2 separate regions of the Homo sapiens genome follow, and region 1 is linked to region 2. Evidence: promoter capture Hi-C in 16 types of primary human blood cells and fetal thymus (Javierre and others, 2016). All regions are on one chromosome and are shown on one strand. Each heading gives the region's core, a stretch centred on a gene start or on the middle of the fragment in contact. The rest is flanking DNA. Distances are from core to core; before and after follow the strand shown.

Evidence for each region. The method cuts DNA at HindIII sites, captures the fragments that hold promoters and counts their contacts. A CHiCAGO score of 5 or more calls a contact.
Region 1: a contact is called between a fragment that was not itself captured here and the fragment with the promoter of EFEMP1 in region 2, in 1 of 17 cell types (M1 macrophages). The highest score is 5.4, in M1 macrophages.

Annotation. Positions count from the first base shown.
Region 1 is chr2:55,802,352-55,805,264 of GRCh38, forward strand. No RefSeq gene overlaps it. Among named protein-coding and RNA genes, the nearest start is that of PNPT1, 110 kb to the left of the region's middle. The HindIII fragment of the contact is 179 bases long and covers 1,243-1,421 here.
Region 2 is chr2:55,922,398-55,925,097 of GRCh38, forward strand. EFEMP1 (EGF containing fibulin extracellular matrix protein 1) reads right to left here and starts at 1,385. Exons shown (of 12, transcript NM_001039348.3): 1 at 1,314-1,385; 2 at 502-542; 3 at 1-50. The coding sequence starts at 43. RefSeq lists an enhancer at 945-1,444. The HindIII fragment of the contact is 8,249 bases long and covers 574-2,700 here.

The DNA of each region.
Region 1 (2,913 bases), core at 82-2,581, 120 kb before region 2:
CACCTTGATAATGGGGTTTTATATCTGTGGCTAGGCTTCCTTAGCTTGGTGATTGACTCAGACCTCTTTTCTATATTACTGACCTTAGTTCCCTGCCTGTCTCTGCTCTGCAGCCTGTCTTGATTTTGCTCCTTAGCAGCTTCTGGGAGGTAATAATCCCTCCACTGGCCCTGCAGCACTCTTACCAGCACTGAGCAGCTGATACCTCTTGCCACGCCTTTCTTCTGCCCTGCTCACTCGTTCCCTCCTGCCCAGGAAGATGCCAGACTTTATGGAAGAGCTGGGACTTTAACTGGAACTTGTGCAAAACAGGGTTTTAAAAAGATTAATCTGAGAGTAGCATGTTTACTGGAGAGAAGACAGGAAGACTTCATGGAAGTAACCCAGGACCAGAGGATAAAGGCCCAAACTGGTGGCAATAGGAAAAGACGGGATTGATGTTAGACATGTTTCTAAGAAAGAATTAGCCAGACTGACTTGGCAGAAAGAGAAAAGAAGAAGATGGATGTCTTTGAATTCTTAGAAATGCTTTGAAGATAAAAGCTCCACCTGGGGGAAAACACGAGAGACCTTTGAGGGTTCACCTTCCAGTAGGGTGACCAATTGTCTCAATTTGCCTAGGACTGAGAAAGTTCCCAAGACATGGGACTTTCAACTTCAAATTAGGATGGTCCTTGGCACACCAGATTGAGTTGGTCATCCTATTCCTGACCAGTGCCAGTATCATTCAGTGTGGTGTTGAATAAAAGCTTTTATATTTCTATGGGGCTCTTTTGACACTCCAAGTCAACTTGGCCTGGATCATCTTGAACAGGCATTTCAAAAAGCTGTTGGGATTTTAGTCAAAGGGGTTGAGACTTTTATAAGTAGGGCAGAATGCTACATATAAGAGTGGTTGGCCGGGCGCGGTGGCTCACGCCTGTAATCACAGCACTTTGGGAGGCCGAGGCAGGTGGATCACCTGAGGTCAGGAGTTCGAGACTAGCCTGGCCAACATGGCGAAACCCTGTCTCTACTAAAAATACAAAAAATAGCCAGACATGGTGGCAGATGGCTGTAATCCCAGCTACTCAGGAGGCTGAGGCAGGAGAATCGCTTAGAACCCGGGAGGCAGAGGTTGCAATGAGGTGAGATTGCACCATTGGATTCCAGCCTGGGTGACAGAGGGAGACTCTGTCTCAAAAAAAGAAAAAAAAAAAAAAAAAAAAAAAAAGAAAGTGGTAGGTGCCTGTGTCACAGCCAAGCTTCAGGCTTCCATTTTGGTGAGAAGCAAATTAAAAAAATAAAATGTTCAAATAATCTCAAATTTCAATGTACTTTCATGCTTCCCCCACCAAAAAAAAAATTGAAGTTCAATTTGCATAGATTAAAATGTTTTGCTCTTTCCTTCATGCTTTCTTTCCTGTTGGTGGATAATGTAAAGCTTACTGAAAATGACTCAAAGCAGGAATCAGACAAAGAGAAGATAAGAACAATCAGGAAAGAGGAGAACTTTGATGGTGAACAAATTGATTGCTGACCACTGAACTTAACTGTGAAATATCCAGAGACAAGTGTTTGGTAACCTCTCTTCTGTGGAATATGAATAATGAGCTGGAATTAAGTCCTCAAGACCTTTATACAACCAGAATAGATGTCGTGCATTTACATGAGAAGATAGAACCTCCTATAACTCTAGAACGGATTTATTTTTAATGGAGATGTTGTTGCAACAGATTTGTTTATTTAGGTTTCTAGCCATCTGCAAACTGGAGGCAATAAACCCAAAGTTTGTTTCTAGACTGATACAAGAACATCAGTGCAGAATGACTATGGATACTTTGATAGTACAGAAGGAGAGAAAAATAAAACACAAAAATTTGCCAAAGTAACAAAGGAAGCATAGTGGCCTGGGGCAATTTAATGTAGGGGCAACTCATTCTATGCATTTGTTATTGTTTTATACCCCTATGTAATGAGATAGTTTAAAGATGACCCTAAATCATCAAGAAAAAGTTAGATACATTTAGTGTACCTTGTTTGAGACCAAGGAAAGTATTTAACATTTTAGAAAGAATTTCCAACAAACTCTTACATTGAGTTTTCAGTTAATCTGAAAATTGACTTCTGTGGAATAACTTTATTCCATAAACTATCAATAAAGGAAATACTACATGTTTAAAACAAAATGAAATGGTGGAAACTAAGTGAGATTCGAGACTCTATGTTAGAGTACTAGGGACCCTGCATTTCTGAGAAAATTGACTTGCAATGTCCCTGTTCAGCTTGGGCTGTGCAATGAATGCCAACTGCAGGACAAAGCTGGGTCTTGCAGACGTCCTGTTGCCCTGACTGCCGGCAGAGAGCCATCAAAAGCTTCAGCGCAGCCCCAAGGGGTGCATATATTAAAGGAAAAACAAGAGCTATGCTCCAAAATGGCTTCATTTAAAATGCAAAGGGTAACAAGAGAGCAACATTTGGGGAAAGCCCAGCTCTCAGAAACAGGAAAGTAATACCGAATCTCGGTTAAAGTTGCTTGCTCTTGAACTAATTAGCTGAAGATTGAATTCAGCATGAGAAGTCAGAATGTGGGTTAAGAGTGAAGAAAAATGTTATTTTTCCTCTTAGGTACCAGCCTGGCACTTCAGAATGTAGTAGCAGGCAGCACATGAGACTCAGCCAATTTGATGAAATCACAAAATTGTAAAAAACACTGTGGCTGATTGAAAAGGGACTCTAGAGATGTAATGTGGGCCAGATGTTTGATAAAAGGCAGTTTTTATCTACTTTGGTGGTAGCCTCTTTGTAATAAGATATTGGCACATTTGTCATTAAGGAAAAATAAAGAGGAATGAATAATACAGAATCCAGTGGAACAGTAAATAATAAGTTCCCACCACTTTTGAAATACTATTCCTACCTAGAATTGATCTG
Region 2 (2,700 bases), core at 135-2,634:
CCAGCGCCAGAGTCAGCATAGTTAGGAAAAGGGCTTTCAACATTGTGAATCTCAAAGAAAATACAGGACAAACTAATGTTTAGTATCTGCTGCGGGGAAAGTAACAAAACTTTAGCAGTGAGCACAAGCGAGGAAAGGAGGGTGGGAGAGGCTGAGGCTCCACCATACTCAACTTCCAATCTGCTTTCTCATCTCCCCTCCCCCTCCTGAACCTTCTCGGTAGCCAACGAACGAGGCAGCAAAGACGTAAAAACTGCTGTAGAATTGCATTTCACGTTACTCCATCCTGCTACGCTGTTTACATACAAAAGACATTCAGCGTGCATTTTATACTGCACCTACAAAGCAGGCTGCAGAAAGAGGGGGTCGAAAGGAAAAAACAGTAATCCATTTCAAAGGGGACGGTGCATTTCCTGCCCCCCAGTCCCACACCCCGGGGGATGGAGGTGGGGCTGCAAAACTCTGTTCTCTAGAACGTTAAGGCTTTCCCAGTATACTCACCTTGAGCTAGCAGAGTTCCTTGCACAGCACAGCAAAAATACCTGTGAGCCAATATGAATTGCCTTGGCCTCAAGCTTTTTATTTTTTAAACAAAATAACAAAACAAAACTCGGAGAGCAATCTTCCAGTTCTAGTAGAATACTAGACCTTCTCACATGTCTCAGAGCTTCTCACATCCCCCAGCACAAACTCTCAAAGTGGCATTTCCACGCCTTTCTCTGCGCACAGCTTTGTTTAAAAGTCCCAGGTTGTGTGGAGGGGCAGCCCAAAGCGACTGATTCTCTTTTGTCTTATCAGTCTGGGTCCCCGACACGCTACCTTCGGTTTCAGGCTGCCTAGGACCGGAACCAGGGATCGCACCGCAGCCCAAGGTACCAGTTTCGGGCGGGCGGCCTGGCCCGGCAGGGAGATGAGGTCCCCTTTCTTAACAGCAAGCTAACGCGGCGGTCCCCTGGAGCTGCTCAGCGTCCCAGCTTCTAACCAGCTCCTATGGAATCCAGGTGCGGCTTAAATCTCGCACACTGGTCCCCTAAACTTTCAAAACCACGTTTATGGGCAAAGCCCTGCCGGCTGGTTGTCGGCGCGCACACACATGCCCATCCCAACAGATGTCACCCGAGTACTCGCACTTGCTGACAGATCGCATTCCGAGGCTGCACACCTCCACCTCCCTCTCTGCCCGAGACACCCTGCACAGTCCAGGGCAGTTCTCGGGTACTCAACACCCCTCAGCTCACCCCACCTCACTCTCCCGCGCGCGGCCCAGTGAGTACTGGGCTCGCTCGGGGCGACCCCCCGTTGGGGGCTCCTACCTGTGCGGCCGCGCTGCGCTCCGGGCCCGGGCAGCGAGGGGAGTGCGCAGGGGAGGGCAGCCCCGTGGGTCTGATCTGGCGAAGTCCGGCAGCGGCCGCGGCGGCAGGAGGAGGAGGAGAAAGGGAGGGAAAGGGGGAGGGCGAAGGGGGGCGGAGGAGAGAGCTGAGGGAGGCGCGAGCGCTGAGCCCAGCGTTGCGAGCCCGGCGGTAGAGCGCGCAGCGCAGCGAGGTCCGCGCCCCCTGCTCCAGGGGCCCTCTTTGCCGCCCCCGCTTGCCCTCCCTTGCCAGCTCCTCGTTTCCCAGACTCGCGGGGACCCCACGCCAGAGAGGACACGTTGACATGTGATGTCCTGGATGCGCTTCAGCCTTGGGGATGCTCCCACTCTCTAGTGCGTTTTCTTCTTCTCTGAGGAGGGGAACACAGCATCTCCCTCAGAGACCAGAGGGTTCTAGAAACTGCTGTTACTTTTTTTCCCAATAAGTGAATGCTAGGAGAGTAAATTAACCCCCATTCATAGAACTGTTTCCTTTACCTTTTCTTTCGGATTTTTTTTTTTTTTTGAGGAGGTGTCTGCTTCCACAAATGGAGAAAAATGAGAATTCATCCATTCAACAAATATTTGCCACCTACTGTGTGCTTAGTGTTGGGAATAGGCCAAATAGAACTTGCACTAACAAAATTGTGAGGTGGGGTTTGTTTTATGGTCTCTCAAACCTCCCTTTATGATAACAAGTGTTGGCAAGAATGGAGAAAAGGGAATGCTTGTATGCTGTTGGTGGAATGTAAATTAGTACAAACATGATGGAAAATTGTATGGAGGTTTCTCAAAAAACTGAAAGTAGAATTATCATATGATCCAGCAATCTCATTTCTGGGTATTTACTGGGAAGATTTGAAATCAGTGTGTTGAAGAGACGTCTGTACTTTCATGTTTATTGCAGCACTATTCACAATTGCCAAGATATGGAATCAACCTAAGTGTCCATCAAGGGATAAATGGATAAAGAAAATGTGGCATATATGTGTGTGTGTATACAAATATAATATATATTATATATATAAACACATATATATATAAAATATGTACACACATATATTTTAGATATATATGCGTTTTTAAGGCTAAATAGTATTCCATTGTGTGTGTGTGTGTGCGCGCGTGCATGTGTATATGAGCCCATTCTTCTGAAAAGTATCTTTCAAGCCAGGCAAAAATGGCAGTTCACTTGAATAATTTGTATGGTAAATAGAGAAGACTTACAGTTTGTTTTAGATATTTACTCCTAGACATTTAATGTTAGTGTACTATCAAGTAAGCCTAGACTGAGTTTAGCTTCACCACTTGGCTATGTAGCCCTAAGCAAGTTAGACACTCTCTTTGATCTT